Linked DNA regions of Homo sapiens: region 2 is linked to region 1. The links are contacts of gene promoters, found by promoter capture Hi-C in human tissues and cell types (Jung and others, 2019). All regions are on one chromosome and are shown on one strand. The core of a region is centred on a gene start or on the middle of the fragment in contact, and the rest is flanking DNA. Distances in the headings are between cores, read along the strand shown.

Region 1 (5,477 bases), core at 1,471-3,970:
GGTAGCATGGCAGGAGTAAGTGCTGCTGCAGGGATGGGACCCTTTGGTCCTGGGATTCAGTTTGCTCCAACCCACTTGTGAAAGCCTGTAGGATGAGGCCCACCTTGCCTTACAAGGAAGGAAGGGTGCCAGGTACCTCAACAGTAGCTGAACATCTGTGCTATCTAAAGAGAAAAGCACCTCAAAAGAACCAAAGCAAATCGCTACAACATAAGGTGCTATCATATTTGGGATTAAGAAAAAATATATTAATAAACAAAAATAAAACAAGTTACTTTTTATAACTTTTGCAAACTTCTAGAATCTAAGATTACGTAAAAATTAAAACAAAAGGCCAGGCGCAGTGGCTCTTGCCTGTAATCCCAACACTTTGGGAAGCCGAGGCAGGAGGATCACTTTAGGTCAGGAGTTCGAGACCAGCCTGGCCAACACGGCAAAACCCCATCTCTACTAAAAGTACAAAAGTTAGCTGGGCATGGTGGTGTGCACCTATAATCCTAGCTACTCGGGAAGCCGAGGCAGGAGAATTCCTTGAACCCAGGAGATGGAGTTGCAGTGAGCCGACAATGCACCACTGCACTCCAGCCTGGGTGACAGAGTGAGAATGTGTCTCAAAAAAAAAAAAAAAAAAAAAAAAACCCAAAAAAATTAAAACAAAAAAAACCCCCACCACACTTTAAAGTTTGAAAAGGAAAGCAGACATGCTTCCCAGAGCAAAAGTGAGTTGGTGCTGCGGTCTCGAGACCTGGGGTGATATGGCAGGAGGGCATGAGCGGCCAGGGCTCCCCTGCTGGGGCTTGGCCTCTTCTTCCTGCCTCTTCCCGGCCTCTTTTTCCCCTCCTGTCTCTCCTCTTGGCCTCCCCACCCAGCTGCCTTCCTAGTTGCTTCTGCTTTTTCTTTCAGAACCAACCTAAGGTGGCTCTGAGACATGCACGTGTCTATTACCTCCTGGCGCTGACCTGCGTTGCTTCCTGCTGTTCACTGGACAATACTTATACTCAATGATTACATGCATTTGTCCCTCCAAGAAAACAAAAGTCCAGTTGAAGGCAGGGCTCAGTGGCTCACGCCTGTAATGCCCAGCACTTTGGGAGGCCGAGGCGGGCAGATCACTTGAGGTCAGGAGTTTGAGACCAGCCCCGCCAACATGGTGAAACTCCTTCTCTACTAAAAACACAAATATTAGCCAGGCGGGGTGGCGCGCGCCTATAATCCCAGCTACTCGGGAGGCTGAGGCAGGAGAATCGCTTGAGTCTGGGAGGCGGAAGTTGCAGTGAGCCGAGACTGCACCACTGCATTTCAGCCTGGGTGATAGAGTGAGACTCCTTCTCAAAAAAAAAAAAAGTCCAAGTGAAACGGTCCCCTGCCTGCTGTGGCTTGTGTCATGGCCATAGGAAGCTGAGGTCCAACTCTCCATCCTGACTCCCCTTCTCTGGGAGCCTTTGTCCTCAACACGTATCTCTTCATGTCCTTATTCATTTTAAAAAGGGAATTCACTCTAAGAATCTTCTGAGAAGTTGCCGGCCCCACTCTGAGCCAGCTCTGGGTCCTTGGATGTCTGATAAGTGGTGGGCGAACCTCTCCCGTAAACAGGGGCTAGGAAGGAGGGGGTGGGATGGGGCCACTACACTTAGGAGGTGGGGTCCCCAGGCCCCTCCAGCTCGGGGAGGCCCTAGGCCTTTTGGTGGCGTTCTTTTAGGATTTTCACGTCTTGCAGCCCCGTGGACTGCAAGGTAGAGCATGGGCCACTCTATTTAGCCAGTCGCACTGAGGTCTGGCACCTCCTCGGTCCCCATCCCCTCCGTCCCCACCACCGCTCACCCCTCCAGGGTGGTGGGGACTCGGCTAGGCCTGGAGGGCGGCCTGGAGGAGGCAGACGGCCTGCGCGTGCCTCCGTGTGCGTGCTCACCCTGGCAAAGCTGAGCTCCTCGGCGGCGTCCTTCATGATACTCCCAGTCCGCACCCTATCGAACGCCCGCACGCCCACCTCCTGCTCCTCCGGCCACTCTAGCGCGGCCAGGTCAAGCCCGCTGGCCTGGGAGAAGTGCTGCACGTGCGTGGCGATGCCCTGCACCTGGCCGTCCACACGCTTGAGCTGCTTGCTCAGGTCCTCCACCTGGCCGCCCAGGTCCTTCACTTGGCTCTCCAGCGCTGACGAAGGCGCCTGGCCCACGCCCCTGCGCTTCTCCCGGGGCGCCCCCTTGGGCACCTCCTTGGGCGCGGGCAGGTGCGGGATGCTGAACGAGCTCCGGACGGACTGCAGCGAGCGGCTGGGCTCGGGCGACGAGGGCTGGAAGTCGATCCGGGTATTTTGGAGGTCGAGGTTCTTGAGCATGGCCACGATGAGCGTGTGCAGGGCCGTGAAGTTGACGGCGCCCACCTCTGGCGTGCCGATGGAGAGGTCCGCCAGCTCCCGGAGGGAGACCGTGGTCGCGGGCGGCATCGTGGCTGTCAGGAGCTGTGCGCCGCCGCGGGGCGCCGGCCAACCACTTCCCGCTCACTGCACGCCGCGCCTTGGGGCCTTTCGGGGGCCCTGCGAGGTCCTCGGGGCGCCCCTGCCCCGGGTCCGGCCGAGTCACTGGACAGAGCTCCTGCCTCCAGGGAATCTGCGCCTCCGCTCCCCGGCGGGGTCCGCGATGGCCACCCCTCCGCTGTCTGTCGCTGGCCTCGGGTCCCCGAGCTGGAGCCCTGGACTCCCAGTCCCCGCGCCGGCGGACGTTTGAAACGTGGGGGCCCCCGCGTGCCCTGAAGATTCCACGTAACAACACGCCTCCCTGCGAGCCACGGGGGCGGGGGGAAGTAAAGGCCACCACAAGGATCACAAGGGGAGCCTTGGCAACGGGCTGAGGAGGCCTCCTAAGATCCAGCTAGACTCCATCCATCCCCTTAACCTAGAAAGGCCAGGATTCACTCACTCTTGGCGGGGCCACATAAGGAAAGACTTGAGGGTTTCCTGGCAACCATGCTTTGTGTCATCAGCTGCGTCCATTCCAGAGTGGTGGCCCCATGTCTATGGCCCCATGTCTAAGGGATGCAGTCCTGGGGCCCTGGTCCCCTCAGACAGTCCACATATTTTGTTCAATCAAAGGTGAAGCAACTTGGAAAAGACAACCCACTCACTATTCAGGCAGTTCCAATTAGCCACTAGATGACTAACTGGTGGCTAATTGTCCCTTTTCTGTGCTGCCATAATTTTTTTTTTACTTTTGAGAGGGAGTCTTGCTCTGTCGCCCAGGCTGTAGTGCAATGGCACGATCTCGGCTCACTGCAACCTCTGCCTCCCGGGTTGACATGATTCTCCTGCCTCAGCCTCCCGAGTAGCTGGGATTACAGATGCGTGGTACCATGCCCGGCTAATTTTTTGTATTTTTAGCAGAGACGGGGTTTCACTATGTTGGCCAGGCTGGTCTTGAACTCCCGACCTCAAGTGATCGACCCACCTCGGCCTCCCAAAGTGCTGGGATTACAGGTGTAAGCCACCGCGCCCAGCCTGCCATAAATTAATTGATCTCAAAAAAACGGCCAGGCTTGGTGGCTCACACCTGTAATCCCAGCACTTTGGGAGGCCGAGGCGGGTGGATCACCTGAGGTAAGGGGTTCAAGGCCAGCCTAGCCAACATAGTGAAACCCCTCTGCTAAAAATACAAAAAATTAGCCGGGCATGGTACCGCGCATCTGTAATCCCAGCTACTCGGGAGGCTGAGGCAGGAGAATCGCGTCAACCCGGGAGGCAGAGGTTGCAGTGAGCCAAGATCGCACCACTGCACCCCAGCCTGGGCGACAGTGCAAGACTCTGTCTCAAAAAAAAAAAAAAAGAAAAGAAAAGAAACCACTCACCTGGTCAAGCGCCTGTGCTTGAGCTCATTACAAAGCAGGATTAAACAGCACGAGACAAATCTGGTGTTAACAATTGAGACATGACTTCCCCATACAAGATTCTTCCCAAAAACGTATAAATAAAACTTCCTAACAGAAGCACAGCAAGGCTACTTAAAGAGAACCTATGAATGTGTGCCATGCATGGCCAGCCTCCTCCGTGAGCTCTGCATCTGCAGATTTAACCAACCACGACTGAACACGTACAGATTCCTGTCATGATTCTCTAAATAATACAGCATGACCACCATCTACACAGGATATTGCAGTAGGTATTACAAGTCATCCAGGATGTGCATAGCTTATATGCAGATACTACACCATTTTCTATCAGGGACTTGCACATCCATGGGCAGGAGGTTGAGTCCTGGAACCAATCACCCATGGATTGTAAGGAATAACTGTACTATTTTAACTACTGTTCAAGTTCAGATTTTTCACTTCAGCCTGAGAGGTACTGTTTATTTAATTGAAGGATTTTCGATCATCATTATATTCCAATAACTTGGGACACAGTAGGCCTTTAAGGGGTTATCAAAATAACTAGTTCTTTGCAGTCTTTTTTTTTTTTTGAGATGGAATCTTGCTCTGTCACTTGGGCTGGAGTGCAGTGGCACAATCTCAGCTCACTGCAATCTCTGCCTCTTGGGTTCAACCAATTAATTCTCCTGCCTCAGCCTCCCGAGTAGCTGGGATTACAGGCGTGCACCCCCTCCCCCAACACCCGGCTAATTTTTGTATTTTTAGTAGGGACAGGGTTTCACCATATTGGCCAGGCTGGTCTCAAACTCCTGACCTCAAGTGATCTGCCCACCTCGGCCTCCCAAAGTGCTGGGATTACAGGCGTGAGCCATGATGCCTGGCCTCTTTGTAGTCTTTTTATGCTTTTAACTTAGCTAGGCTAATTTTTGTATTTTTAGTAGAGACGGGGTTTTGCCATGTTGGCCAGGCTGGTCTCAAACTCCTGACCTCAGGTGATCTACCTGCCTCGGCCTCCCAAAGTGCAGGGATTACAGGCATAAGACACGATCCCTGGCCTGTTTTTTTTTTTTGAGACAGGGTGTTGCTCTGTCACCCAGGATGGATGGCAGTGGTACAATCATAGTTCACTGCAGCTTCAACCTCCTTGGCTCAGGCAATCCTCCCACCTCAGCCTCCCAAGGTAGCTGGAACTACAGGCACATGCTACCAATGCCTGGCTAATTTTTGTATTTTTTGTAGACATGGGGGTTTCGCCATGTTTCCCAGGCTGGTCTGAAACTCCTGGGCTCAAGCAATCCTCCTTGCCTCAGCCTCCCAAAGTACTCAGATTATAGGTGTGAGCCACCACACCTAGACTTTTTTTTTTTTTTTTTAAAGATTTAAAATACAGTATTCAACAAGGATTTAGCTTCAACACTTAGGAAGAGGGTGGAACCTGGGAAAGTGTTTGTGTCCAGCCACAGACCTGACTGCTGTTCTGTATCCATGGTCTTCTGCTGTCTAATGAAAAGACTAGCAAGACAACAAATTATTTTATTTGCAACTTCAGAGCCACTCAGATACCCAGAGGTGGGATGCTATTTTCTAATCTGACATCCTTGGAAGATGTAACAACATGA
Region 2 (5,477 bases), core at 1,195-3,694, 410 kb after region 1:
TTTCCTACCACTCCCCACCCACTCTTTAGTTATTTTAAATAAACACAGGACGGGCATGTCAGGTATCACGCCAAACATAAGGCCTAATGTTAAAAAAAACACGGTTCCAGTTTTTGCTGAGGATGCCTTTAATACTTTTTTGGGAATATTACAGTGCCTGAGCTGATCTGTGATATAAACCAGATATTAGATGGAGTGCTTCTTTTTAAATGAAGATACACAAACGAGACCCCTCAGCAACAGGGAGAGCTGAATTCTGCTGCACTGCACGATATTAAGCGGGCCATGCACTTCCTTTTAGTGGTGGTTGATGAAAAGAGCCTATAAACTATAAAATGTGAAATAGGCTTTATCTACGGGCGACTAGCTTTTAACCACTGTGGAAGTTTCAGCCAGTGTATGGGCCTATTTTTTTTCTTTTGAGATGGAGTCTTATTCTGTTGCCCAGGCTGGAGTGCAGTGGCGCAATCGCGGCTCACTGCAACCTCCACCTCCCGGGTTCAAGCGAAACTCCCACCTCAGCCTCCTGAGTAGCTGGGATTACAGGCGCCCACCACCATGCCCGGCTAATTTTTTTCTGTTTTTAGTAGACAGGGTTTCACCGTGTTGGCCAGACTGGTCTTGAACTCCTGACCTCAGGCAATCTGCCTGCCTCAGCCTCCCAAAGTGTTGGGATTACAGGCGTGAGCCTCCGCGCCCAGCCAATTTTTTTTTTTTTTTTTTAAAGAGACAGGGTCTTTCTTTCTTTTTTTTTTTTTAAAGAGACAGGGTCTCACTATGTTGCCCAGGCTGGAGTGCAGTGGCTATTCACAGGCATGATCATAGCTTTCTGCAGCCTCGACATCCTGGGCTCAAGTGATCCTCCTGCCTTAGCCTCTTGGGCAGCTGGGATTACAGGTGTGCATCAATGCTCCTGGCCCAGGGCCTTAATTTTGTGCTCCATCCCATTGTTTTAAAGTGTAAATACATTTTTTTAAAGTCCTGTTCTGCTGACAAAGTACATTGTTGACTTTCAAATGAGTAAGAAAGAAAATAAGGACAAAACAATGCCAAAAACACAACTCCAAATCATGTTGCTTTATTTAAAATGATGAACAAGTTTCACCCAAGTGAAAGTTTAAAATACCAACCCAATAGCAGATCCACAGGCTTTCATGGCAGACCCCATGGCTAGACGGACGCAGAACTAGGAGACTGCTCAGTGTTCTGACAACTCCAGGAGGCACGAGTGTGCAGAAGACAGTCCCAGTTCTTCTGTAGCATCCAGTCACTTTGGAGACAGCTGGCCAGGGCTAGCTCTCCTCCCAGGAGGTTCACTGGGGCTTAGATGACATTTCTTTTTTTTTAAAGACAGAGTCTCGGTCTGTCACCCAGGCTGGAGTGGCTTGATCTCAGCTCACTGCAACCTCTGCCTCCTGGGTTCAAGTGATTCTCCTGCCTGAGTTGACCAAGTAGCTGGGACTACAGGCATGTGCCACCACACCTGGCTAATTTTTGTATTTTTAGTAGAGACGGGGTTTCACCGTGTTGGCCAGGCTGGTCTTGAACTCCTGACCTCAAGTGATCCACCTGCCATGGCCTCCCAAAGTGCTGGGATTACAGGGGTGAGCTACGGCGCCTGGCCGAAATTTCTGAACAATGAGACAAAGTTGAGAGCCACCGCCTGGGGGTGCAAGCTCACCTAGTTTTGCTGCATAGGATGTCACATCTTGACACAAGCTAGTGGGAGGGGAGTGTGGAAGAAGCCGCCAGACTCCACTTCAAATCTACCAGCAATACCAGTACACACATCAAAAACAACTTACTCGTGGAAATACTACAGACAATCTAAAGAACCTACAGCTGGGGCATCCTTATACGCCTTCCTCCTACACAGCATTTTTTACATTTACTGCAAAAATTTTGTTCCATCCTATACTCGTCTAAAGTCCTAAATCCAAGGCTCAGTCTCTAGTAAGCTTATAAAGCATTTGCACCAGCAACCTTCCCACAGATCCTTAGTTTTGCTACTTTATGAAGAAGCTGTTACTACCTTAAGTATACATTGGTGTTAATTATGCTCTTTCATGTAGATCCGTTACACCTGCATTTAAGAAGGTCTGCACTTTCTTCTACCTGCCCTCACCAGCGGCCCTGTGAACAGCCGCAACAGCCGCACATTCACTGTCCATTAAGCTTGTGGAGCTTGTCAGGGACCTGGGCTTGTCACCGTTATCTCCAGCACCTCAAGAGCAGTGCCTGGCCCTCAAACACCTATTGAACGCTTGAATTATTAAGACACGGACAGCTGCAAGAATACAGCAAAATGTGAATGTCCCTCTTTTCAGTGGCTCTCCCCTCAAGGATGTCACCCTAAACATCCCAGTACCACTAATGGCAGAGGCATGTGTGTGAAGCATGGATTCTTCCAGCTGATGGTGAAGCCTCATCCCCAAAGACCCAGGGTCCTCCTGATGTTCTAGGTCCCCAACTCTTCTCTCTCCCACTCTGGTCCTTCCATCAGAAGTTAATAATCCAAGATCCCTTCTTCCAGGACCCAGCTCTTTGGTTTTAAGATCTGCTGTCATCTTGGAGAATCATCCCTGAAAATAATCTAACATTATCTCCTTCACTTTACTGTTGTTGGCACCATTCAATGGAGTAGCTCACGCCAGATGGGAAGAGGAGTTAACTTCTGAACAAGTGGTCTCTGGGTACCCACTCTTCCTAGTCTACCTTGGCCACCCGCCACCACTCCACTCCTTTTCCACACACGGTTTCCCCACCTTGCCCCTGTTGTGCTTACATAACGGACAGCCTGGCTAGCCCACAGAGACAGTAACGGGGGTTGGGGAATAGGGCTGCTGAATCCCTGGCCTGGCAGGAATAAACAAAGCATGTCCCAGGAGCACAGAATCTGTACTATCCAGACACTGTACTATCCAGAGCTGACTTGGGCCTATCAGATATGTTATTCCCCTCATTTCTGGAATACTGTTATCAAACAGGAATCAACTTTAGCATCTGGAGAAAGAAAACTGGGTGGCTAATCTTTATTTTCTAGATTATTATTTTTTTGAGAGATGGGATCTCACTATGTTGCCCAGACTGGTCTTGAACTCCTGGACTCAAGCAATCCCCCTGCCTCAGCTTCCCAAAGTGCTGGGATTACAGGTGTGAGCCACTGCACCTGGCCTTGGTGGCTAATTTTTAAAATTCAAAATTTCTGCTCCCCTATCCAGACCACTGGCAACGTGTCCTACCACGCCCCCTGGTGGCAAAGAGCCTTTTTGGGCTGTTTTTTATTTTAAACTGAAGTTTAGAGGAGTTGTTGATAGAAAACTGAAAGGAAGGTAAGGAAAAAGGGCAAGCGTGGCAGCACAGGAGCAATGCTGGGAAAAAGAAAAAAGCTTTTTATAGATGGCAAGAAAAGTCTTTTTAAAAAGCAGGAGTAGCAACACCACTCAGATATTACTACCAAGAGATTATACATTCAGAGTTTGACTTTACTCACACCCAAACACATCCTGTGCCCACCACAGAACCAAGGGGGCTGTGGGCGTGGGGGTAAGGAGGGAGAGCAGCCCCCATGGCAGGCAGGCAGCACAGTTCTACCTACCCAGCCACATACTGGGGTTGGCATTTGAGGATGCAGAAAATTGAACTAAGACAAAAATAGAGAACCAGCCTCCTAGAGTAAAGCCACATGACCCAATGTCAGGAAATGACAGTCTGTTAATAACAGTGAGCAGAGACCTGTATTTTCCTGGTTACACCTGTTTCTAGTGGATATTTTGAGAGGCAACAGCACACAATTCTAACACATCCACACACAGCCTCCCTGCCTGTGAACACTGCAGTGAGAGCTCCTTCCCACCTGCCTGCCAATGCCTCCAACGCTCCAGCCCAGGCAGTGCTTCCAAGTGCGCCCCATGGCCTTGACAACCCCTCTTATTGAAGTTTAGTTGAATTTAGGGACAAATTAAGGCAAGCAGGTGAATCAAGAGGGCAAGAGATGGCATCTGCTGGTCAATCCCCAAAAAGTCATCCAGTTAGTTATTTAGAAGTATCAACAGACTGCAAAGACTACAGGTGCCATCTCTGAATTTACTCCCCGTGTGTAACACAAGTCACCCACTTAACGTCTGTAGGTCAAACAAATGGGGAACGCTAATCTCAGAGTACCTCGCAAAGTGAGCACTTCTTATGGATCCCATGGTGCGGAAGAATGGAGCCTATTCATACTTTAAGTTCTGTGGTAAGAGCACATTGCACACCGTTCCCACTCTATGCAAACAAAAAACCCCAATGTATCACCCCCCCACAAAAAAATACACTGTACAAAAACACCCCTGAAATTTCAGTCTCTATGATGATGGAGAAAAAGATAAGGAATCCTAAGACAGACTGAGCAGTGGGTGATGGTGATGGTGCTGGGTCACTGCCACTGAATGCATTTGTGGGCTGATGATGACATACAGGAAGAAGGGCAGACTCCAAGTCCTTCCGACACATAATTGGCTCACAAAGTCCACTCACCACTCTCAGTCTCTGTGGTACACAGCTGGCTCTGTGGAAACTCCTTACCGACATCCGTGAGGTAACAGACACAAGACGTTACAAGGATCACACCCTGCCAGCCTTGTGGTTGACTGGCTCGGTTTTCAATGAGACAGCACAGAACCTTCTTACCCAACATCCCATTAGCTTCAGTGTTTCACTGAGCTGGCCGAGCTGTTAAATTTCTTGATAATCTATCCTTAGGAAGCAGTAAAAACAGCATTTGACCGAAGATAGGAGCTTGGACCAGGGAAGGAATATCCAAATTCAAAGAAGACAGAGGAGAAGGTAGGAGCAGAAGATGCGAGAACTGAGTTGGGTGGCTGCCAAAAGCTTACGCTGAAAGCACCTCAGGGAGAGTCTCTTTATCTGCTCAGGGGTGAGCCCGGCCTCCACAAGTGTCCCTAATCCTGCCAAGGAAAGCACAACTGCCTGTAATCAGCACGTAGACAGCATGCTGGGTACAAAGCTGGAAGGCAATGTTAAAAGCAGGACCCCCGGGACCCCACGTGGAAGTCATGGCAGGGCTTTCTCCAGAGTTTTCTTACAAATTACAAAGTCACAGATCAAGTGCAGATATAAATCTATAAATATGTAATAATAGAAACAATTTAAAAAGGCAGGAAGAGTCTAAGTATGGCTGTGAAAGGACATCGAGGGTTGAGAAATGCACATTCCAGTTTGATAAATTCACTTGAGTAAGTCACTTGAATTTCCCCATGGAATTTCAGCTAAACCACAGAGAATGGAGGCCACGCGATAGGAGGGCTGCGGGTCCTGCACTTCCCCCATGCATTTAAGAAAGACTGAGCTGCTGGGAGAGAAAACGTTAACAGGAATGTCACCTTCAGCAGTCAAGGGCTTCAGACATTCAAAACCCTATGAACGTCAGTATTAAAACATGTATATATATATTTTAAAGACAGGGTATCACTATA

The links. Contacts are between HindIII fragments. The study calls those that stand out against the background at their distance.
Region 2: a contact is called between a fragment that was not itself captured here and the fragment with the promoter of QRICH2 in region 1, in 1 of the 25 tissues and cell types used here (dorsolateral prefrontal cortex).

Annotation. Positions count from the first base shown.
Region 1 is chr17:76,305,556-76,311,032 of GRCh38, forward strand. QRICH2 (glutamine rich 2) reads right to left here and starts at 2,721. Exons shown (of 19, transcript NM_001388453.1): 1 at 1,910-2,721. The coding sequence starts at 2,443. It overlaps PRPSAP1 (phosphoribosyl pyrophosphate synthetase associated protein 1), which reads right to left. Exons shown (of 10, transcript NM_002766.3): 10 at 3,923-5,477. The HindIII fragment of the contact is 11,814 bases long and covers 1-5,477 here.
Region 2 is chr17:76,711,774-76,717,250 of GRCh38, forward strand. It overlaps a transcript of JMJD6 not described here. Among named protein-coding and RNA genes, the nearest start is that of MXRA7, 3.5 kb to the left of the region's middle. The HindIII fragment of the contact is 3,371 bases long and covers 760-4,130 here.